Linked DNA regions of Homo sapiens: all the other regions are linked to region 6. The links are contacts of gene promoters, found by promoter capture Hi-C in blood cells and fetal thymus (Javierre and others, 2016). All regions are on one chromosome and are shown on one strand. Each heading gives the region's core, a stretch centred on a gene start or on the middle of the fragment in contact. The rest is flanking DNA. Distances are from core to core; before and after follow the strand shown.

What was found. The method cuts DNA at HindIII sites, captures the fragments that hold promoters and counts their contacts. A CHiCAGO score of 5 or more calls a contact.
Region 1: a contact is called between the fragment with the promoter of PSMD6-AS1 here and the fragment with the promoter of OXSM in region 6, in 4 of 17 cell types (activated CD4 T cells, naive CD8 T cells, non-activated CD4 T cells and 1 more). The highest score is 18.9, in activated CD4 T cells.
Region 2: a contact is called between a fragment that was not itself captured here and the fragment with the promoter of OXSM in region 6, in 1 of 17 cell types (naive CD8 T cells). The highest score is 5.4, in naive CD8 T cells.
Region 3: a contact is called between a fragment that was not itself captured here and the fragment with the promoter of OXSM in region 6, in 2 of 17 cell types (total CD8 T cells and activated CD4 T cells). The highest score is 7.3, in total CD8 T cells.
Region 4: a contact is called between the fragment with the promoter of ITPR1 here and the fragment with the promoter of OXSM in region 6, in 1 of 17 cell types (activated CD4 T cells). The highest score is 14.9, in activated CD4 T cells.
Region 5: a fragment that was not itself captured here is called in contact with the fragment with the promoter of OXSM in region 6 in 2 of 17 cell types (fetal thymus and naive CD8 T cells); the score reaches 15.3 in fetal thymus.

Annotation. Positions count from the first base shown.
Region 1 is chr3:64,009,646-64,013,217 of GRCh38, reverse strand. PSMD6-AS1 (PSMD6 antisense RNA 1) reads right to left here and starts at 1,254. Exons shown (of 2, transcript NR_189168.1): 1 at 1,176-1,254. PSMD6 (proteasome 26S subunit, non-ATPase 6) reads left to right here. Exons shown (of 8, transcript NM_014814.3): 7 at 2,263-2,340; 8 at 2,454-2,667. The coding sequence ends at 2,550. It overlaps PSMD6-AS2 (PSMD6 antisense RNA 2), which reads right to left. Exons shown (of 3, transcript NR_038286.1): 2 at 3,465-3,521; 3 at 975-1,421. The HindIII fragment of the contact is 1,623 bases long and covers 528-2,150 here.
Region 2 is chr3:64,030,977-64,034,516 of GRCh38, reverse strand. No RefSeq gene overlaps it. Among named protein-coding and RNA genes, the nearest start is that of PSMD6, 9.3 kb to the right of the region's middle. The HindIII fragment of the contact is 647 bases long and covers 1,472-2,118 here.
Region 3 is chr3:3,133,741-3,137,587 of GRCh38, reverse strand. TRNT1 (tRNA nucleotidyl transferase 1) reads right to left here. Exons shown (of 8, transcript NM_182916.3): 3 at 135-328. Among named protein-coding and RNA genes, the nearest start is that of TRNT1, 8.7 kb to the right of the region's middle. The HindIII fragment of the contact is 3,707 bases long and covers 1-3,332 here.
Region 4 is chr3:4,491,804-4,495,669 of GRCh38, reverse strand. It overlaps ITPR1 (inositol 1,4,5-trisphosphate receptor type 1), which reads right to left and starts at 2,322. Exons shown (of 62, transcript NM_001378452.1): 1 at 2,065-2,322; 2 at 1,164-1,239. ITPR1-DT (ITPR1 divergent transcript) reads left to right here and starts at 2,507. Exons shown (of 2, transcript NR_108075.1): 1 at 2,507-2,886. RefSeq lists silencers at 391-685, 1,984-2,253. The HindIII fragment of the contact is 5,640 bases long and covers 1,900-3,866 here.
Region 5 is chr3:5,182,143-5,185,896 of GRCh38, reverse strand. No RefSeq gene overlaps it. Among named protein-coding and RNA genes, the nearest start is that of EDEM1, 3.7 kb to the left of the region's middle. The HindIII fragment of the contact is 4,107 bases long and covers 79-3,754 here.
Region 6 is chr3:25,787,448-25,791,388 of GRCh38, reverse strand. It overlaps OXSM (3-oxoacyl-ACP synthase, mitochondrial), which reads right to left and starts at 1,299. Exons shown (of 3, transcript NM_017897.3): 1 at 1,242-1,299; 2 at 1-399. The coding sequence starts at 368. It also overlaps a transcript of NGLY1 not described here. RefSeq lists enhancers at 1,002-1,071, 1,082-1,151, 1,291-1,820 and a silencer at 1,254-1,473. The HindIII fragment of the contact is 1,038 bases long and covers 928-1,965 here.

The DNA of each region.
Region 1 (3,572 bases), core at 5-2,504, about 38 Mb before region 6:
TGAGGCTAAGTGATTTGTTAAAGGTCATTAGACCAGTTGTTATCAAAAGTTGTCTTCTGTTACTTCTTTGTAGACCACACTGCAGCTACGGTAATGACTCTTAGATCTGATATTTACAGTTGGTCATATTCCCTCTGATAATTCCTTCCAGTTTTTAGGTTGCTGCTGCAATTCTGGTCAGATTGGTTGTTAAATGTGGGACTTTTAGTACTTGCATCAGTGATTAAACAAATAAATACTTAATGAGCCATTCATTACTATATGTTTGGTATTGTTTTACAGCTCCCTTTTCACACTTTCATTGTAGTAGTAGGGAAGAGATGGCAAGGAAGCAAATAAATATAAAACGTAATTTCACATATAGAAATGAACCTATGGAGATGAGAAAATGCTATCCTTACGTACGGCATGCTTAAGGAGGTGAGGTTTGCTCTGAGATTTGAATTGAGAGGAGTCAGCCATATGGAGTCCTTCTGCGTGCAGAAAAGGGAATAGAAAAGGCTAAGGCTTTGAGCCAGGAATAAGCTTGGATGTTGTAGGAACAGAAAATGTCAGGGTGGCTCCAGCATAGTTGGAGTGGTAGGAGATTTTGAGGATAATATATGGAGAGTTAGGTAGGTAATGATTTGTGTAGGGCCTTGTAGGTCATGGGATGGAGCTTGAGTTTTAAGTAAGTTTGATAGGGAGCCATTGGAAGATTTAGAGCCCAAGTTACATGGTCCTATGCAGTGTCTTTATATAAGAAATAGAGTAAGGTGGCAGAGAGGACCAGTTGTGCTGTTTAGTAGCTCTTAGAGGAGATGTTACCGTGGCGTGGACGAGGGTGGTGAGAGTAGAGTTGGGTAGGAGACATACTCAATATGGGATGTCCAGATGGCATCTAGATCAGTGGCTCCCACATGTAGGTGTTTTTAAATGTTGATGATGGTGTTTTCAATGGTCTGCAGTGGAAACTTTAAATGAAGATGCATTTCTTTTAAATAAGACCATTCTCTTTCTAGTATTTTTTAAATTTCGAACATCCATAAAATTGTAAAGAAAGAATTGTACAGTACATTTTAACATATTTGCTTGTTACAATCTATACATTTTATGTTTTTTAACCACTTCAAAGTAAGTTTCAGACACCAACACATTTTTTAAATGATCCCTACCATTTTTTAAATGATCCCTACCAAAATGGAAGGCTGGTATCCCAAGGTTTTGTTCCATTTCTCAATTCTAGTCTGTGAAATTGAAGTCTGATGACCACTCTTAAGAGGGCTGTTCATTAGGGTGCGGGCTGGGCATTATGAGTGTGTTTTTCATGAGTCAGTGGAAGGAGGGGCTTGTTGTGAGCAGTGCATGAGAAAAACGGCTTGGCTTTGCTTCTTTTTCCAGCTCTGTGGCCTTGGTCAGGTTACGTCTCTTCAGTATCGTAACTGTAATGTGGAGATAAAGCCTTCATTAGTTAGGGGCACACACCGCAGTATTCCTTAAGTCATCTTGATGACAAGTGAATGCAAGGCAGCTGGTACCTTTCAGGTAGTAGTTGAATTCAGGTAGTATTTGTTCAGTTTTTTTTTTTTCCCTTCATGTTCTAAGACCAGCTTGAGAGGCAAAGGTTGTACCACTGAGCTCTAGTTGTTGTTACCTAAAAAGGCCTTGTTTTAAATTTCTGTGATACCTAAGAATTTCAAATCTGGGTTGTCATGGATTCTTTATTCTTTTTTTCTCCCTTAAAAAGTTACATTTTAGATGAAATCCCCTTTTTTAAAATGGGCAAAGCAATAATTCTACATCATTTCTCCCCTTCCCTTCCACTTGTTTAGACTAAGATATGTTAGAGAGGGAAAGGGTCGTTGTTTTAGTAAATACTATTGCTGTTGACATGTTAATACTATTGCTGTTGACATGTTTACTGATGGGCTGTGTTCCATAATTTTGTTTTAGGTCTTTTGTTTGAAACAGTTTACTGTTTTTATCAGTTTTGGTCCCTAATTTTTCCTAACCTACAGTTTTTCTCTGAGTACATATGGTTTCATTGTTTGATCTACTTTCTATCTATCTGAATATGAACTTCTAGGATCATGTTTATTCTAGTAGATGATGACTTAAAGCCTGCAGTATAGGAGGGACAACGTCAACTACTGCATGTGCAATAACAAGCTTGAAGGGAAGCTAAATGTTTGTTACAAATTTAAGACAGTATTTTAATGCCGTTTGCATTTTTCTAAGAATTTTCTATAAAGCTAATTCTGTTATTTTTTGTCTCTAAATTAGGGAACTGTCCAGGTTTATTGCTGCCGGGAGACTACACTGCAAAATAGATAAAGTGAATGAAATAGTAGAAACCAACAGGTACTCTCATTTCTCAGAATAAGGGGCATTCCTAAATTTTAAAAGTAGGTCAACTATTGTCATGGAATAATGTGACTGGTAAATAATTCATTTTTTCTTGAATTTATTTATAGACCTGATAGCAAGAACTGGCAGTACCAAGAAACTATCAAGAAAGGAGATCTGCTACTAAACAGAGTTCAAAAACTTTCCAGAGTAATTAATATGTAAAGCCATGTAACTAACAAAGGATTTGCTTTAGAGATAATTATTTGGAATTTTTATAGCTTACTTCACAATGTGCCCAGGTCAGCTGTATAAAATAAATACTGCATTGTTGTTTCTTTCCATTTATTTTTTTCTTAAACACATAGGCCTTCTAGAATCGGGTCCACTTATGTTAAAATAATGTCACTTGAATTATTCATTAATGAAAATCTGGTTTATAGGGTAAGGTTGCAGCTGGGTTCAGCTAGGTTCAGCTCCTGACTGCCTCATCAGTAAAATACGTCAGTAAAATACGGATGTTGACACAGCCCATTATCGCTTACCTTTAAATCTCTTACCTGTAAGCTTCCCGATTTTAGAAAGAAGAGTAGTGGCCTAAAATTAAACAAACAGTGTCTCCCACTTTTAGTATACAAAAGATAGAAGATAAAGAAAATGTGTAATAAGCTTTCCCTCAGAAACAAGTAACCATATAAGGCAGGAAGTTACTCTTTTTTAGGAAGCTGACATAACCTGGATTACAGAATCTACCAAGGCTGATCTCAGTTTTCTAAAACCTTATATGTAAGTATTTATTAGCAAACTGAATCTTTTTTCCAAAAGTAGGACCATAGTAATAATAGCAGTGAGGAAAACAAAGTTGTTCCTCTGTTTGTTTGAAACAGTTTATTAGTTTTATCAGTTTTATTCAGTGTGTCAGATAGGAATAAGTGCTATAAGAAGTATAAAACCAGATAGACAGACAGATAGATAGATAGATAGATAGAGATACAGGGTATAGGCCGTCTTCTGAGGTGTTGTGGAAGGCTTCTATGGTAAGGTGACATTTAAGTGAAAAGGAGGGAGAGCCCATGAACGTATGGAGGGAAGAAAGACGAGGAAAGTCACTGGCAATTTTAAGTGCGGATTTGGCTTACCTTTTACGTCTCACTTACGGCATTCGGTGGCATGGATTGTACAGGCAGCTGGATTTGCTAAAAGATTGAAGAATGGGGTGAGGAGGATGAGGGGGAGAAAATTTGTCA
Region 2 (3,540 bases), core at 546-3,045, about 38 Mb before region 6:
ATAGATGGAAGATATCTTAGCTGGGTATGGGATTCCTAGGTTGCTGATCCTTCTCTCTTTGATGTGACTCCATTGTGTTTAGCTGTCAGTGTTGCAACTGAGAAGTCTTAGGCCACTCTGATGAGTTTTTTGCTGTATGTATATGTCTTTTGTGGATGAGAGGAGTGGTTTGAAGGATGGGAAAACAATGTCAACCAGGTGTCACCACGCACAATTCCAGGAGGCACCATTCACATCAACTTTCATCATAAGAGTCATGGATGACTGCAGGTCAAATTCTTTCCAGCATCTGCCACTGTCTTGTCCTCATCCTAGGCTATCTGAAGCCTCATCTCCAGGTACTTCCCCAGCCTATAGGGAAAAAATACTTCCACCAGTTTTCTCCACCTGGGCTTCCAGAGAGCTAAAGGTCTCCTCTAAACCTCACTTCCCTTAGGCCTCAGTAGGAAGACTTCAGGAGATGCAGAGGCAGAACTGAGCATGGAGATAAAGAGGGTTGCTTTTGGGTAGCCATGGGCCCAGAATGTCCCTCATCCCTTAGAGCGTAATTCGTTAAGCAAGGCTTGCTTATAATTTTTCCTCTACAGATGTGAGCTCTTCAAATTGAGAGATCTCTCAGTGACAACAAAGTGGCTGTACAAAAACTATAACATCATTTTAAACAGATTAGGCACTAAATTAGTCTGGGCGCCATAGCTCACACCTGTAACCCCAGCATTTTGGGAGGCTGAGGTGGGTGGATCACTTGAGGTCAGGCGTTCTAGACCAACAAGGTGAAACTCTGTCTCTACTAAAAATGCAAAAATTAGCCAGGCATGGTGGCGGGCGCCTGTAATCCCTGCTACTCAGGAGGCTGAGGCAGGAGAATCGCTTGAACCCAGGAGGCAGAGATTGCAGTGAGCCAAGATTGCACCACAGCACTCCAGCCTGGGCCACAGAGCAAGACTCTGTCTCTAAATAAATAAATAAAAATAACGGGTTAGGCGTTAAATTATTTCTTCCTAAAATAAAGCTGAATGTGTTGGAATCATTGTTCTCTATTAATAAAAAAAGAGGAATATTAAAAATTTCAAGCAAAAATTTGGCTTGTTCATGGTCTAGGAAACCTACTAGGCAGCCTGCTTTTGAAAAGGAGAAGATAAGGCTCCACAACACATGGCGTGACAACCATTTATGACCTCTCCAGAGACAATATTCCACATGAGACCATCCGATTAGAAAGCAGAGTCCATGAAATAGACTTGTCTTGCTATTTCTGTGTGCTTTTAGGAAGCCTATGCTCACTGAGAAGAAAGAAAAGAATGTTCCTATAAACTTGTGATGGAAAAGCAATAAAAGCCACCAGAGACATTCTGAAATTTTTATTCTAATATTTCACTGACCAGAAGGAAGAAGCAGGAAGCCTTGCAAGGTTCAAGAAATAGTTGTCAGCAATAAGGAGAGACCACATTTTTCTGCCTCGTATAAAGCTTAAAAAGCAGGGGAATGGTGTTCAGAGAGAAAAGAGCAATTGATCTAATTGGACTAGAAGAAAGTATACTTTAAAAATTTTTTATTATGATAAAAATGCATAAAATGTGGCATTTTAACCATTTTCTTATTTCTTATTTTTTATAGACAGGGTCTTGCTCTGTCACCCAGGCTGGAGGGCAGTGGTGCAATCATGGCTCACTGCAGTCTCAACTTTCTGGGTTCAAGCCATTCTCCTCCCTTGGCCTCCAGTGTAGCTAGGACTAAAGTTGCAAGCCACCATGCCTGGCTAATTTTATTTTTACCATTTTCAAGTGCATAATTCACAGGGATTAATTGCAACTATCACTGCCGTCTTTTTCCAAAACATTCTCATCACTCCCCACAGATACTCTGTACCCATTAAGCACTAACTCCTCATTCTCCTTTCCCCAGCCCCTGGTATCCTCTGTTCTACTTTTGTGTGTGTGTTTCTTTATGAATTTACCTATAGAAGGAAGTATTTTTGTGTACCAGGGAGCAGTAAAACTAAGTCAGTGAAAAGACTACCTCTTAATCGATTCAGTACTGAATTCCGTAGACAAGCGAAGCCACGCAAGGTTTCAGAGCAAAAAATACAACCCGGCTAGAGCATTGCTTTCAGAAGCTTCATCTGGCAGTGGTTTGTGGGATGGATTGGGGTCTGGAGACCAGTTGAGAGGTTGTTATAAAAGCCCAGGCTGGGGGTAAGGAGCACTTGGAGCCACTACTGAAATGAGAAAGAAGATTTAGGAGACATTTTAGGGAATATACAGGAGGAAGCAGCCACAGGACCTGGCAAAATTACCTCGGGGTAAAAAGGGAGGGAGGATGACAGATGTTTTGAGTCTGGGTGACTCGGGTGATTAATTTTTAAACTATGCATTTTTAATTAGGCTTCTATAAAAAGTCACAAAACAGTCATTTAAATTATCAACAAAGCGTTCCAAAAAAAGATCAGAATCGAGTGTGATGTTCTTTTAGGAAAAAAACCTGAATCAAACAAAAGAATTCTATCTTCTAAATGTCAAGGTTCATGTGACATGACATGGCATTTTATAGGAAAGGAGGGAGGTAGGGAGGACCAGGGTAATCAATCAATCTAGAATGCTCGAAGGTAGGAATTCAAGGGAGGGAGAAGGAACTGACTCTATAAGGAAGGCCATTATTCGTGGAGAGCATGTTGTGGCTAATATTTAATAATAAGAAGTACGATATTATGGCTAGAAGCATGGAGTCTGAATCCAGACTTTTTGAGTTCAAATCCTACTCTGTCATGAACTAGCTGTGTGACCTTGGTCAAATTGCTTAACCTCTCTGAACCTCTGTAATATGGGTTAATATAATATCTATCTGATACAGTTGTTTGATTAAATGACTTAATATATATGTAATGCTTAAGTACCTAGCACATAGCAAGTGCTATACAAGATTTTGGCACCATTATTATTCTTAGGCTAATTTAAAAGAGCAACGTAAAATTTAAAAAGTTTCCCTGTAAGGTTGAATAACTTACTAAGGAAATCAGAAATAAAGGAATCACAAAGTCCGACATACAGCCACAGCTGAAATACCTCTTTTCTGTGATTTAAGAATGCTGCCTTCTTAGGCCAATGCTAATTATTCACCTGCTTATTAAACATTATTTAAAAAACACTTAAATTGGTATGATACTAACTCACTTTTTAAAATTCATTGACTTGGAATTTTTCTAACCAAGATTAAGTTTATTTGTTTCAATGGTCTGAGTCCATTCACTTTTTTTGCCCATGACAAGGGATGCTGAGTTGAACAGGAAGTAGGGATCAAATCAATAGATAGTTGACTAAATGAAGGAAACAATGATTTGTATATTTTCCGAGGCGATCTTTGAGGTCAAGGTCTAAATTTAGGAATATGGATCTTTAAGGATTTTTTGCTTCATTTGTAACTAAAATCAGGGCAGCGGTTCAAAGGACAGACTCAGCTTTTACACCAGTGGTTTTTTTCAGTGATTTTTCTCCTGTGAGATTTAGAAAATGCTGTGCTTACCATCCAGTGCCTCTGTCGTGC
Region 3 (3,847 bases), core at 230-2,729, about 23 Mb after region 6:
CAGGGTTTATGACGGGCATAGAAGAGACTGACTTTTTTATTAGACTTTTCGTTATTTGCTTTTAACTAGAGAAAATTAAGTTTTTAAAAATTACCAAAAAAGCAATGTAATTACCTGTCAAACTTTTGACTCACCCTGGCAGTAATTGTTCCGTGCTTTTCTCCTCTGTTGTTTATCATCCGAATCCCAGCCGACTGAAACATCTCCTTCATTTGAGTAGGGGTAGCAGTGGTGGCAAAATCTATATCCTGAGGCTTTACTCCATTTAATAAATCCCTCACTGCTCCTCCTGCTATTCTTAATTCGTGATTCTCTTTGACAAATAATTCTGAGATGAGAGAAAATAAGATTTTTATTCCCAAGTTCTTTATTTCAATGTGTTTATTTTAACCACAAAAGTACAAGGCTTTTCCATCTAGTTGGAACAGCAGAGATTCATTTAACTGAGGCTTTTCATATGAAAAATGAGAACAAGGCCCAAAGAAGTAAAAAGACTTGTCTACAGGAGAGTGCCTCTGAGGACCAACAGGAAACAGAGAACTTGCAGAATTCTTTGCTTATTCAGAAGATAATTCAGAATTCCACAATGCCTCAAAGTGATCAATATAAATTTGAAGTATTACTAAAGACTAAAGCAGGTCAGGCGCAGTGGCTCACATCTGTAATCCTGATACTTTGGGAGGCTGAGGTGAAAAGATCACTTGAGCCCAGGAGTTCAAGACCAGCCTGGGCAAAGAGCAAGACTCTATCTATACAAAAAATAAAAATAGCCAGGTTCAGTGGCGCACACCTGTAGTCCCAGCTACTTGGGAGGCTGAGGTGGGAGGATGGCTTGAGCCCAGGAGTTCAAGGCTGCGGTGAGCTATGATCGTGCCACTGCACTCCAGCCTGGGTGACAGAGCAAGACCTTATCTCAAAAAAAAAAAAAAGAAAAAAAAAGAAAGTAAATCAAACAATTCTGCTTTCTTTTCCCCATTTATGTGCATACTTTAGAAATGGTAACATGTTCTTGTATTTCTCTGTGTTTACAGATAGATGTTGAGGCAGGATGTTCACGCATGAAACTATCAGACATTAGTCTATACCACTTATGATTAATGTTTATAGCTAAAAATCTTCAAGAAATGGTCTGTATATAATTCTAAAATCAACTCCTATCTGTGCTCTAGGTAGAACCATTTGAACACTGAACAACTATAAGCAACTACATAGCTGACTCCTCTATATGTAGAGGATAAGGCAAAATCCACTATAACTATATCCATATGTCCACATGGAACCTAGTGAGAATGGCATCCAGGAGCTAGCCTGCCACAATATTAGGCCCTGGGGTCTGTGGTACAGAAACATTTTCACAAAACATCAATATCAGACAAGCCCATTCTGTGACCACGATGGATCGATCAAGACAACTCTGTAATCACCTAAACATACACGAAACATGAACACTGTCCATGATACACCCTACAATAGTTGGTAACAGTGACTGTGCCTTACCAATTAGGTTTAGTCTCACAACTGTACTCAACTTCTAGGAAACCATTATTAAGACACCCAATCACAGAATTACTTCTGCTTCCTGAGAGCATCTAACCCGCTGCAAAGCTCTACTACCTTAAATGCTCTCCAAAATGACCCAATACAAGCCCAACTCCTATAAGAAGTCATTTCTAAAGCCCTCTTACTGAGTATACCTCCAGGTTCTCCAGTGTCAGCATGCTACTCCTCACTCAGCATGTTGCTCCTCACTGCCAGGAGTAACAACCCAACTTGTGTCCCTGTTGGTCTTTGGCTAGCAGACAGCAACACGAGCATTCAACTAAACTCATCATACATCAAAGTTCCAGCACCTCTAATCACAACTCAAAACAGAATCCTCTATCCCTACCTCAACATCTGTTTTCTGTCCTGCCCACACTCCTCTTCCACCTACTCTTCCCACATCTTTTCAGCCCCATTCTCTGTAGACTCCTTAAAATGATGTACTTAAAAGTAACAAATGCTCCCTACCCTCTTGACTTAATTAAGGATATCTTTTCCACAAGCTCTCCCCAAGGGGAAGTGTTCATATTCCCCTAATGCCACATTTCCCATGAAAGCCCACTTCTGGGACCACATCACCTCCCTTAAATCCAGCCTCCACCATCTAGACATAGGGATTTAAAACACTAGGTTAATTACGCTACGCATTAACTGCTCCTCCTAACTACTCACAACACAGTACCCAAATTCCTCAGTGCTATATCCAAAGGCTTCCATGACCTATTTGTCTCATCTCTTGCTAAACTCTGCATCACACTGTCTGTACCAGCTGTCTGCACAAAACTCTCCCCACAGTTTTCCTCCATAATTTTGCTTGTGTGAGTCACTTCACTGAAACACCTCCCCAACTTACTCCAGCTCAGTGGCTGGCTGTCACACTTCTTAGCCCATAACCCACACTAAGACATTCACATAGCAGTCACCAAAATTTGTATGTCTACATGGCAAACAAAAGTATCATAAAAGAAAACCTACCCTTCGTACCATGCAATCTATTCTATTCTCTCTTTTTTTTAATTACTGGTCATGACCACTAAATTGACTTCATGGCCCACTAAGAGGTAACTACCCAGTTGGAAAACAATGATCTAGCTCACTCTTACTTATCTGTTGTGACTCACTTTAGGAAGCCTCACCTGAAGGTAAGGTTAGGTGAATTTCTTCTAAGCGACTAGTACAGCATATCTTTATACATACCAATTATATTAAAATTACCTGTTTTATGTCTTTGTCTCCCCACTTCTCAGGGTAGAAAACCTATCTTATTCATCTTTATACCAATCTGGCTCATAATTAAACTGAATTATGATATTCTAACTATTAAAAAAAAGAATGACTTCACTGGTAAGTATTGGGTTTTTTTAAGTTTTCTTAAAACGGTATCAAGTAGCTGTTCTGAAATTCAAGCAAATAAAGGACAAGTTTTACGTTCACTTGAACTTACTATAAACAGTGGGATGAAGAAGGTCAAGGCTTAATTTATACAGATAACTACTGTTTTAAGATTCTCATGCTGGCTTTACTAAAATAAAACGATAAGTTCAAATTTACTCAGTAAGCTAACTGCATTACAAAGAGATCCAGAACTCAAAGTAATATATTCACCATTTTGATTAGCCTATGTTATTAAACCATTCCAAAAACCTTGCCATTCAGGATTTTTAAAATAACATTTAAGACAACTGAGAAAGACGTATCAAGGCATATTTGTCTATATGAAAGAGCAGTCATAAAAATTATAAGAAAAGCATAATTTCACATTGGCCTAAAACAGCAGGGACTATCAAGCTTCAAGATTTATTTATTCCTGTTACTGATATCTTCAATCTTACAGAAACAGGGAGGCAGTCAACATTTCAAAAGACTTTGCGAGCTACATTCAATGAAATAATTCAGTGAAAATAACACCTAATGTAACTAAATTTAACTGTAAACTTAAGCCTAAAAGTCAAAGAATGCAGAATCTCATCATCCCCAAACTACGTTTATTTGCTCCAAATGCCACCTCTGATAGTAAGCAATTGTTAATTATTATTAGCAATTCAAAAGACCATACATTAATGTGTCAGAAAACTTTTATAACTGTCACCTCTTTTTAATGTTAACTTTTAATTAAATTTTCATGAACGTCTTCCCTTTACAGCTTTAAATTTTGACGACTGGAGGCTGGGGTGGGGTAAGGGGCAGTGAGTGGGAGCTATGAGTGGGAAGACATGGTGTGAGCATTACTACAGAAAAACAGACCATCTGTTCTAAGAGCTCCGGACTTCAAGAGAGTGATCAGTTGTCCCTATCGTGCTATATT
Region 4 (3,866 bases), core at 1,073-3,572, about 21 Mb after region 6:
CTTACAAGTACTTAATGTGTCCATCTTATTATTTTTAGCAACCAGTTAGAAAAGAGTCTGTGGACCAGTTTTTCCTTGCTGTACAGCTAATTCTGAAAAGGGGAACTGGGCCTAATCCTTGGCTCTATGAGCACCCACACAGCCATGTGAGTCAACAGAACTCCAAGAAGAAACTAGAGTTCTCACATCCAAATGCTTCTCACTCCGCCAGTACTCCTGAGGATCTTATCAACAGGAAACAAAAGCACTATACCACTATAATGAAGTGTCTGACTTTTATTTTCTCATTAGAAAAGCCCAAAGATTGTAGCCCAGGGAACAGCTAAATATTTAGAATGTTAAAAAAGTTATTAAGACCCAGCCACCCACCCCCACCTACCTCTGTTACCCTGTTATTTACCATGTTCCTGAACATTTCAGGAGAAAAAACTCCTGATAGCCAAATCTGCAGCAATAGTGATGTACGTGCACCCGTTGAAACCTCCCACTCTTCAAATGCAGTCTGACCATTTTGGGGAAAAAATAGGAACTGTTGTGTTTACAGATAAATGCTGCTCTCAGCTCATATTCCACCACGGGCCCCAAAACAACAGGGACCTGCCAGATTCCTTGACACTCAGGTGGCTTGAGTCAAGGGCTGGATGCTACCACCTTAAGCTTCAATAACTCACTTCCCTTTTTAAAGTTCTAATTCTTTCAACTTGCAGCAACCACTTTCATTTCTTGCAATCCAACCTACTCTGATTAAGCACACGTTCAAAATTAGAAAAGAGTGACTATTTCTTGAAGGAGAGAGGCAGTTAATACTGCTTACACATTTTGGCATATGAAATGCACTGTATCCTTCAGAATTTAAATCATCAGCATGCTTTTCAGACCGGCAATGGGCCGCCGTTTTATTGCTCCATTTAATGGCCTTTTCCCCTCCTCTCTCATAAACTTTCAGGCTCCTTCAATTCTCAGCTACTTCCAAGAAACGGACTGTCCACTGGACCTCTGCTCCCAAAAGCCCTCACCAAAGGCAGAGGCAAATTTTGAAGACTGAGCCACGGAGTTTCTTTTTCTTTCTTACTCCCCACCTCCTTGGCGGTTTAGATAGAACTTAAAATAGGCTTAGGACAAAAACTCATTATTGACTACAGCACTCAGGCTTCCACACTCACCTGACCTGGGTCAGGCACTCTGTTGCCAAAGCAAGCCCAGCGAGGGGTGCAAATCCTGCTCCTCTGTAGTCAGCTCCTAAATATTTAGAAAGAAAGAAGACTGAGTACCAGACCGCGGAAGATGAGCTCTAACAGAAATGCTCCAAATTACAAGTTTCCACCTTCTTTAGCCTCCTTCACTGGGGACAGCCCCCCCGCCCCCAAACTTGGTAGGCAGGTTGGTGGGATCGCTTGGGCGAAGATTCCAGGTAACTACGCTTACTTATTTCCAGGATGTAACTGACAATTGAGACTAGGCACGCACAAACTTCGAACGTGCGGGAGGCTGGAACTAAGGGAAGTGTTTGGCAGATCCCAAAGCACTTGTTTCCCGGCGAGAAGGCCAAGTATCCGAAGCCCGCATCCTCATTGGACATGAGCTTCGTCCACACTTCATCCCTCACCGCTTCTCCGGTTTTCTTCCGTTTTTAAAAACCCTCCCCACGGGGGGCCCCTACACATGCATTATTCTCCCAACCACGGAGCGCAAGAGAGGGATACATTTTTAGAAAGATTATTTCCTTGAGCAGACTCACATATGACACCCCCACAACCTCTCTTCAAAAAAAAAAAAAAAAAAAGAACTATTTCCTGCAGCTGCAGCAACAGTTTCCAACTTGGGGGAATGCCACATCAGACCAGAATGGGGAGCCCCCAAAGCCACGCACTAGAGTAGAGGATATTTGTTTTTTAAGCTTCAAATGAGCTCCCCCCAAAACAACTGCCCGCAGTAAAGGAACCCCCAAATGCATGCCAAGTGCATGCACATCCATCAAGATCTCCCCGAGAGCGGGGCAAAAACTTCTGCGCCCGGGGAGCCAGTGCCAACTCCCCGCGCCCTCTGCCCGGCCCCAGCCGCTACCTTGGTGCCCGGGGAGCCACGCCGGTTTGGGGGAGCAGGGCGAGGAGAGGGGTTAGCAGCCGCTGGGTAATCCCATGTCCGCGAAGAGGGAGCTCGTTCCGTTAGGATGGAAGCGGAACACCCACACCTCCTCTCGGCGTGCGCTTTCTCTCTCTCCACCCCCTGCCTCCTCCTCCACCACCACCTCCTCCTCCTCCTCTCCTCCCACCCCAGCGAGCTTGAGGAAACGCTTCAGCAGCACATCCACATGGTTACTGCACTTTAAAGCGGCTCCGGGTGGCTTATATAGGCCGGGAAGCTCCCTGGGCAATGTAGTCCAAGTAGCGGGTCGTGGCGGCGCCTGAGGCTGCGGGGAGGGACTACAAGTCCCAGAATCCCCTGGGCGCCCGGGCTGGGCCCTAAATAGACGCGTGCGGGGACAGGGGAGGGGCGTCCTGCGAGGCTTTCAGGCTGCTGAGCCTGTTCCTTGGCTGGGGTCGGTAGGGCTTGGAGCCAGCCGTTCAAAGTCACCCCTGGGAAGCGCCCGCAACCCTTGGGGACGCCTCTCCTCCGGCTGCCCCCCTTCCCTGGAATCCAGGTGTCACTGGGGCCGGGGAGGGGCTAGGAGCTCGGATTTCTGCTTTGGGAAGTTTTTACAAGCCCACCCTCCCCCTGCCTTGGTTCCCCGAGCCAAGAATTTCAGAAATCCGGGGCACAAAAACGCCAGTGTTTGCGGTCAAGGATTAAAGGCGCGAGGTGTCTTTATTTAATCTGCTCCGCCCTGCTCGGGTTTGCACGAGAAACCAAGCCTGGGAGCGACGGTCCACGCAAGCGGAGACACAGGCAAGTCGCGTGAGAGCACTTTTCTGAGCCCGAGTTGCTTGTCTTTTATCGCCCGTGAGGAGGTAAAGAAAGGCAGACCTCTCCGGTGCACAAATAAAGGAGCCGTGTTGTGACTTGCCGGCTCTGAGATTGGGAGGCAGAAAATAAATACAAACCGCGACCTCAGTCCTGACCGTACCTCTAGCAGCCCCTCTGCTCCTGGGAGCTGTAAATGCTTAAGTAAATAAACCGCAAACCAGAAAAATAAGGGCTTAGGAAAGAGCCGCTCACACAGAGATGCGCATCCAGGCGGGGCGCTCTCCAAGAGCTCCGAATGGGGCAAGGTGGGTTTCACCCGCTGCCAAGTAATGCCTGGGCTCCCGGGCTACACGCTGCTTAGGGCTCCGGCTTTTGCAAGGAGGGGAAGAGCTAAGCCCGGAGGCAGTCAGCCGACTGCCCTGTCTTGCCTCAAATGACGTATATTCATTCCTCAAACGTTTCCTGAGTGTTTACTAGGTGCCAGGCGCTGGGGCATAGTGGTGAGCCAAACGCATTATAGCATCCCAGACAGGCACTTCCTGACGCCGCCTAAAGATCTGTTATAACAATAGTAATAATAATGATAATAATCAATGGGGAGGCTGATTTTATTGAGCCCAGACCACATGCAGTTTTCATGCGTCATGCTATTGAGTTTTACCAACTGTAGGTATATTTATTATATCTATTTGGCAGGTGCACAATCCAGGGCTCAGAGAAATCAGGTAACTTCCCAAATGACCCCTCGAGTTAAGTGGTACAGCCTGGACTCCCGTTCCAGACTCTACGTGTATGAAACCCTTGTCTTTGGGGAAATCCACCGCCATTGCCTTAAATAGCCTCTCTCCCCATTTAGGAGCAGCCTCTGAGCCCTTGGGCAAGTCATTTTCATCTCTTTGCCCCAGTTTTGCCATCTGAAGGAAATTCTTATTAGAATATGTCTACTTTTTAGCAGGATTCCT
Region 5 (3,754 bases), core at 883-3,382, about 21 Mb after region 6:
TTTTCATAGTAAAACTGATGGTTTTCAAAACACTTTGACATGTGTGCTTATTTAATCTTCATAGAAAACTGTAAAGCTTATTCCACAAGCCATAATGGAAGAAATCAGGTTGGGGGCTCAATTCTCAGAGCCTGTTGGCTCTAGGCAGAAAGGGAGTTACTACACTTTAGGGCAATTTGCACTTCAAATAGCTGGCCCTTGAGCAGACAGGTCCCTCTGCTCTTTCCAAGCCACCCAAAAGCAATAGTTTTGACATTAGTGCCCTGCAAGGCATAGCCTAGGCATTAGGGTCTAGGTTCAGAAAGTGTTTCCTTCTGGAATGAAACTGAAATGAAAGAAATGGGTTATTTTGTGCTAGTCCTTTCGATTAGGACTCTCCTTAAGCTAAATGTACTGATAAGATTGGGACAACACCCATACCCAATCAGAAAACTCCAGTCTTGAAAATCAACTCTTTAAGATAAACAGTTTGATTTGTGACAGGTTTTCCGGTAATCTCACAAGCGCATCAGGGACTGATAAAAAAGGAAAGGAGGCACTTTTTCAGTGTAAAAATGGCTTTACTCTGGGGAATGCAAAGAGATGACAACTAAGAACTCACATTCAGAAGTCAGGTGTTCAAATCGTAGCTCTGCCCTAAGAGTGACCTTGGGAAGTTACTTTTCTAGGACTTGTTTCCTCATCCATAAAATGGGTGAGTGATGAGGACAATGTTTATCACAGTTGTGATTACATCATATATATATATAAAGTACTTACAACCGTGCTACATAGTGAGACCTATTAATACTTTTCAACTCTGAAACTTTTAAAACTAGCACCCGGCTGGGCGTGGTGGCTCACACCTGTAATCCCAGAACTTTGGGAGGCCAAGGCAGGCAGATCACTTAAGGTCCGGAGTTCAAGACCAACCTGGCCAAAATGATGAAACCCCATCTCTACTAAAAATACAACTACCCGGGCGTGGTGGTGGGCGTCTGTAATCCCAGATACTCAGGAGGCTGAGGCACGAGAATCACTTGAATCCAGGAGGCAGAGGTTGCAGTGAGCTGAGATAGCGCCACCACACTCCATTCTGGGCAAGAGAGTGAGACTGCGTCTCAAAAAAAAAAAAGTATTTCAAAAGCAGAGGTTTTGCAAAGCTGAAGGCCTAAAAAAAAGTATATAATTACAGTTCAAACTTATTTGATGGGCACAAATCCAAGTTTGTCAACATGCTCTGTTAGCAAGATACAGGATACTCGAGAGGCTGAGGCAGGAAGATCCCCTGAGCCAGTAGTTTGAAGCTGCGTTTCCTATGATCGTGGCTGTAAATAGCCAATGCAATTACCTGGGTAACAGTGAGACTTCATCTCTTTTTTAAAAAGGCATAGGGGACTGGGACTGGTAAAAACAAAAACTAGTACTTCCCGTGTGAAGGGTCATTTGGCAATTCCTAGTGTCAGAAAAAAATTACAACAAATTTACTTACAGATCTAACTGGCGTTTATTCATAACTTATGAATGGGGCAGCCTCCATTCTACAAAACAGAATGAAAGCTCCCAATGAGAAACAGCAGAATAGTGGGTTTTGTAAGATGAGAGCAAGGAAACAAAACAATGAAAAATAACTGATTGGTTAACATCGGGTTACTTTTTTTTTAAGGGTTAAAGAAGAAGGGACTTCCTTATTATTCTGATTCAGACAGACTGGGATTTTCTGTTTTCAGGAAAAACTGGTCTGTAAAGTTTCCATGTAACTGTGTGGCACTTAATATATGTAACTACTTTGGTCTGCTAGGACCTAGTGCAGAAACTCAGTCCACAAACAATGACCCCCCATAATTTTGGTTTAACGTTAGCACAAGTCGCCAGGCGCGGTGGCTCACGCCGGTAATCCCAGCACTTTGGGAGGCTGAGGCGGGTGGATCACTTGAGGTCAGAGTTCAAGACTAGCCTGGCCAACATGGTGAAACCCCATCTGCACTAAAACTACAAAAATCAGCTTGGCATAGTGGCACATGCCCGTAGTCCCAGCTACTTGGGAGGCTGAGGTAGGAGAATTGCTTGAACCCAGGAGGCGGACGTTGCAGTGAGTCGAGATTGCGCCACTGAACTCCAGCCTGATGACAGAGCAAGACTATCTCAAAAAGGAAGAAAAGATAGTGAGATTCCCTTCTAGCAGTTCTAACACCAAACCACTGAAACAAATATATGAACTATACATCAAAAATATTCATCATGCACATGCCCATACCATGCTCTAGCCTTTAGGTTACTGATGCTTCCAGAGAATATAGGAATTCTATAAATCCTTAACCCTTCTTTGAATGAGGGCTAGCGCTTATAAATTAGCTAATAGTATGACAAATAAGAGCAATTTGAATTTTTCTTACAGAATAAAATATACAAATGGAAGAGTTATCTAATTCACCTATTGGGTAGTAGATAGAAATGGTGAATTCTCTTAAGCCACAGAAACAAGCTAGCACATTGTGTGATACACATTGTACAACACTGAGGGTAAGTCACAATTGTAGATAAGAATTGGTTAAGGGAGATGCTATAATTAGCAAGTGGTTAATGTTCTACTTCCCAAGTCCAAAAGGGGATACAATGGTTTTGTTGGTCCTCCAGCCCCTTTACTTTTAAGAGTAGTATTTTCTAACCATTCCAGGTTTCTCCAAAGCTCTGGATAAATTCTAGCAGAACCTAGCTGGCCGGGCATGGTGGCTCATACCTGTAATCCCAGCACTCTGGGAAGCTGAGGTGGGCGGATCACAAGGTCAGGAGATCGAGACCATGGTGAAACCCCGTCCCTACTAAAAATATTAAAAAATTAGCCAGGCGTGGCGGCGGGCGCCTACAGTCCCAGCTACTCGGGAGGCTGAGGCAGGAGAATGGCGGGAACCCGAGAGGCGGAGCTTGCAGTGAGCTGAGATGGCGCCACTGCACTCCAGCCTGGGCAACAGAGTGAGACTCCATCTCAAAACAAACAAACAAAAAAACCCCCAAAAACCCAGCAACACAGCAGTTATAAAGGATTAAACCTTAGCTCTAAACCACCTACCCTCAAATTGGTAGTAGGTATATACACTTTTCTGGAGTGCATACCAAACATTTTCTGCAGTCTGGGGAAAATGTTCTAAAATTTGTAAATGCCTTTCAAAATATAAGCCGGTATATTTACAGAATTTCCTTCAAACAAAATAAATTTACTGTATCATTCTGTAAAATGTCTGCAATCTCCAGCTTTTGTGCTAAAATTTAAAGTTGTAACATGTAAATATTTCTGTATTTTTGAATTACCTTCTATTGAAGGAACATGTAATATTAACATATTCACTAGGCCAAATCGGTGTTTTTGTATCTCTTTTTAACCACCAAGCAAATTTCTAGGCTGCTAGAATCAGCCTGTCAGTGGCAGAAGTTATGGTTAGAAATCCTCTCCTGTTCATTTTATAGATGGGAAAACTTAAGGAGCCATGAGGGGGTTCTGCAACTCACCAGTCACACAGTCAGTTAATGGCCAAGGAAAGAACCCATTCTCCCAAATGCCAACCCAGTACTCTCCACAGAATTAAGCTATATTAGCATCGTAAGCTAACAACTCTTTTCCTACATCCCTACTGTAAGCCCCAGTAAAATGAAGCTAAAGTATCTTTTCCCCCTCCTGATTATTGGGAAATCTGCATTACCTAAATGCCAGATGCCTTGGGATTTCAAAATAGAATTATCTTACTGAAGAGAGGGCTGGTTAATAGAATGGAATAAT
Region 6 (3,941 bases), core at 50-2,549:
ATGGCCATGATGGTGGGAGAAGACATGGACTTGATATCTGATTTGGACACAAAGTTTTGTTCATTGAACTGACCTTCATCACTACCTCTTGGCACATAAGCAGCAACACTGCAAGGGATACTCTTATACTCTTCACCAACCAGTGAAACAATTCCACTCTCTCCTCCGATAAGACGATCCCAAACCAGGTGAGTTCCAACACCAAGAGGAGTCACTAAGCCAATGCCTGTAATGACAACTCGCCTATGCAATCTGGATATTGGCACAGTTCCGAAAAACTTCCTTTTACTTCTTAACTGTTGGCATAATCTTGAACATAGAAGACGAGTGCTTGTAATTTTCAGGAAATTTTGCAGGCAGTTGGACATGATTAAGATTCAGATGATCAGAAACACATTCCTGTAAAAGACCACAACACACCTAGGAGGTATTCTTTTAAATAGCTTAAGGGCCTAAGGAAAAACATCCAAGGTGTTCCTTTGGGTGCTTGATATGAGCTGCTAATGAACACAGGGAAAATGTTACATACTTTCAATTTATACCTTAACATCAAACTATCTGTTTAAACTTACCTTCTTTTTTAGACCTTAAGTGCCGTCAGACATTTGAAGACAAATAAATGAATTGATGATTCATTCGAGTCACCAAAACAGTAATTCAATGAAAAATATAAAGGCACCTCCAGCCTGATTTGAGCTGCAGGAAGCATCCTTTGTCAGGATTACTGATAACTTCTTCTAAATAGCATTTCTGGTGTCAGTGGCACAGAAAACACATTTCAGGGCATATTCTTTTAAGTAAGTAAGTGGGCTTTATCAATCTTCAGTACTTAAGGATAACCAGCCTTTTCAAAACGCTACCCAGGGCCAAGAGCCCTAGACTGAGCGTCTGGATACATGGGTTGGCAATACACTCTGTGACCAAGCTTGCGATGGGGGAAGGGGACAAGTCTTTCCACTCCTCTAAACTTCTCCAATTGAATCATTGGTGGAAGGAGGGGTTACGACTAGTGGATCACTTCAAGGGTACTACGAAGGCCAGGGGCGGGAGTAAAAGAGTGTAGCCATTCCCTGTATCGCCTCTCAGGCACCACCACACATGTACACAGCCCGAAGAAGCATGGCGAGAGAAAAAGAAATCAGGCCCCAGGTCCTCGGACTCCCCTCTCGAAATTCAACCCCGACTTGATTTGAATGTAAAGGAGGAAAGGAGGGGCGAAGGAGGAGGGTAGCCAGCGATACCTGTAACGGGGCTACCCCGGACACTTCTCCACAGTCGGGGGCGATGACGCTCTCGAGCGCACGCGCACACGCACGTACGCTCATGCGCGCTCGCACGTACGCTCATGCGCTTTCCCACGCACGCGTCCCGTTCGACTCTCTTTCCGCCGGTTGACTTTAAGCCGCGTCACCTTGGCTGAGGTCAGACCGTGGGAGGCGGCTGGGTAGCTGTTTGCGTGAGCAGAGACGCCCCTCTCGGAACCTCAGTGACTCGCCGATAATCGAGGACCTGCCAATAACGCGATGAGGTAGCATTTTCACCCATCAAAAAGGCATTTTTCTTTGGCAGTGATAATGCCCAAATATTCCCTTTTGTCGGAGAAGGGACACCATCGTATTCTACTGGAATTGTAAGAAAGAATTAAGGAAATTCTCTGCAGTTTCAAAGTTATTGCTATAGCTCGCAACGTTATTAGTAATTGTGAGTAAAGTGGAATTAACCAAAATGGCCAACATCAGGAAATTTGTTGTGTATCTTGTGGTACATCCAAATGCCATGCAGCCGTTTAAAATAATTCTGCAGGTGAATATTTATTAATGAGATGTTGCGACTATTTGTTAGGAGACATAGTTACAAAACAGTATATATCCGTTTTTTCAAAAATAATTCTTTAAAGGTCTGCAAGATGTATACTGATTGTGATCTTTCCCTCCTTATTTTTGCTTAGCTTTATTTAATAAAGCTTTTCTACAATAAACAAATGTTTTTGTAATAAAGTTTTTACTTTTTAAAAGTTGTCACCAGGCTGTTCTGCCTATGGAGTAGTCATTCTTTGTTCCTTTACTTTCCTAATAAACTTCCTTTCACTTAAAAAAAAATTATCACCAGATTTGAGACAGTGCTCAAAAATTGTCTCCATTGTCACAATGGAGACATTTGTTTCTAAGTGTGAAAAATTCATTAACTGTTTGCTTAGAGCTGACTGCAAACCGATAAAGGGAAAATATAACATGAAAATGTAAAAAAGCAAGAAGTCGACAAGATGGTATTCATCGAACATCTGTTTTTCACATGCTATCCCAGGCGTGAGTTTTGTCCTTGCTCTTCTTTAGAAAAATGGTTGAGCATAGAATCTTCATCTGGACCTTCTAGTCATATTTATGGTTTTTTCTGGGCAATGCCTCTTGAAGCCATTGTTTCCAAGTAGAGTGCTCTGCATTCTTTCCTACCCCTACAGAAGAATGTGAGTCAAGCTTAGCTTTCCAGGTTGGTCCTGGATTTAAATGAGTTTGGAAATCTATTTTGTTTAAAATAATTCAGCAAAGCTCAGTTTGACCTTCGTCCCAGGCCTAACCAGTCACCTCTAGTTGATCCTCATTCAGTGACAAAGTAGAGTTTCTTGAAGAATTAAAACAAACACATGTGGTTATAAAGTAACACTTGATGAGTAAGTACCTAAACTTGATCTCTTTTCATTGCTGTCTTTAAAATAATAGTGTGAAAATACCTACAATATTTTCTCTGAAGCTGAACTCATAAGAAACATACAGTTTTAATGTGCTATTTCTTTTGTAATATCACAAAATCGTCTTGGCTAAGAGGTGACAAAATCTTTCAGAAAAATAAAAAGACCATCATTTTTGTATCTACCTCTTATCACCTTTTCTTTGATCTGGAAAAGGGTGGGAAATTTTATGATATTTAATGGCTTTACATATTTGGTACCATATTTCCTGCTACAATTCCATCGTGTCTTCTTGCACCAAAATCTTCAAATGGGCTCTGCTTATCCTACCCTCCTATTAAGACTTCCTAGGTTTGCCTTAAATTCTTTGTAATCTGATTCAAAACTATCTTTCCAATTATGGCTCCCATTCTCTATTAAATGAGCTTGCCACCCAGCAAACTGATTTTCTCACTATACATGTCTTGATTGACCCTAACTTTTCTCATCTCTGTGCTTTTGCTATTTTCAACAACCACTCATTTTCTTCCTATCAATGCTTGAAGTTTGAATGCAAAAATGAGTAGAGGTATGGCTCTTGCTTTCAAGAAGTTTATGGTCTAGTAAAGGGAGACACCCATAGAAACAAGTAAGTGCAAACTGTTGAAACAGGTGCTATAGTGGAATTATTATAACACAAAAGGGACAATGAGGTCTGTGCTACCTCGTAAAGTCAGAAAAGGCTTCAGAGAAATGATCCTTGAACTGCATCTTGGAAATGAATGTTTGTCTAGTAAATTGGGTGGGAAAGGGCATCCTGGCAGGAGGAGAACAAAGGCCTGGAGAAATGAAGTGTCATGGTATCTTCCACAAACAGCTAAATATGTGGCCCATGTCAAATTTGAAGTGTGGGACAAAGCAACAGTAAACGCATGAGAGTAAGGCAGGGCCCAGATCACAAAAGCCTGGGGTATCATACTGAGGACTTTGGATTTAATCCCGTAGTTCAGAGACCATATGCTAGCCTTCATGGTATAATTTGGAGTGCAACATTCTTTTATTGATTCTAAACTCCTCTAGAAAGGACATGGTAAACTCTCTCATTCCCTTCACTGGAGTCTCTCTTACTCCTCTTTGTCTTGAACAAAGCCACTTAAAATATTTAACTTACCAGCCTGGTTCCTGACACCATTTGACTTTAGAATGTGGATAGAGGGAGCCATAGAAAACTTTTTACCAGGAGAACAACATGATCAGATGGGTGCTTTAGAAAGAT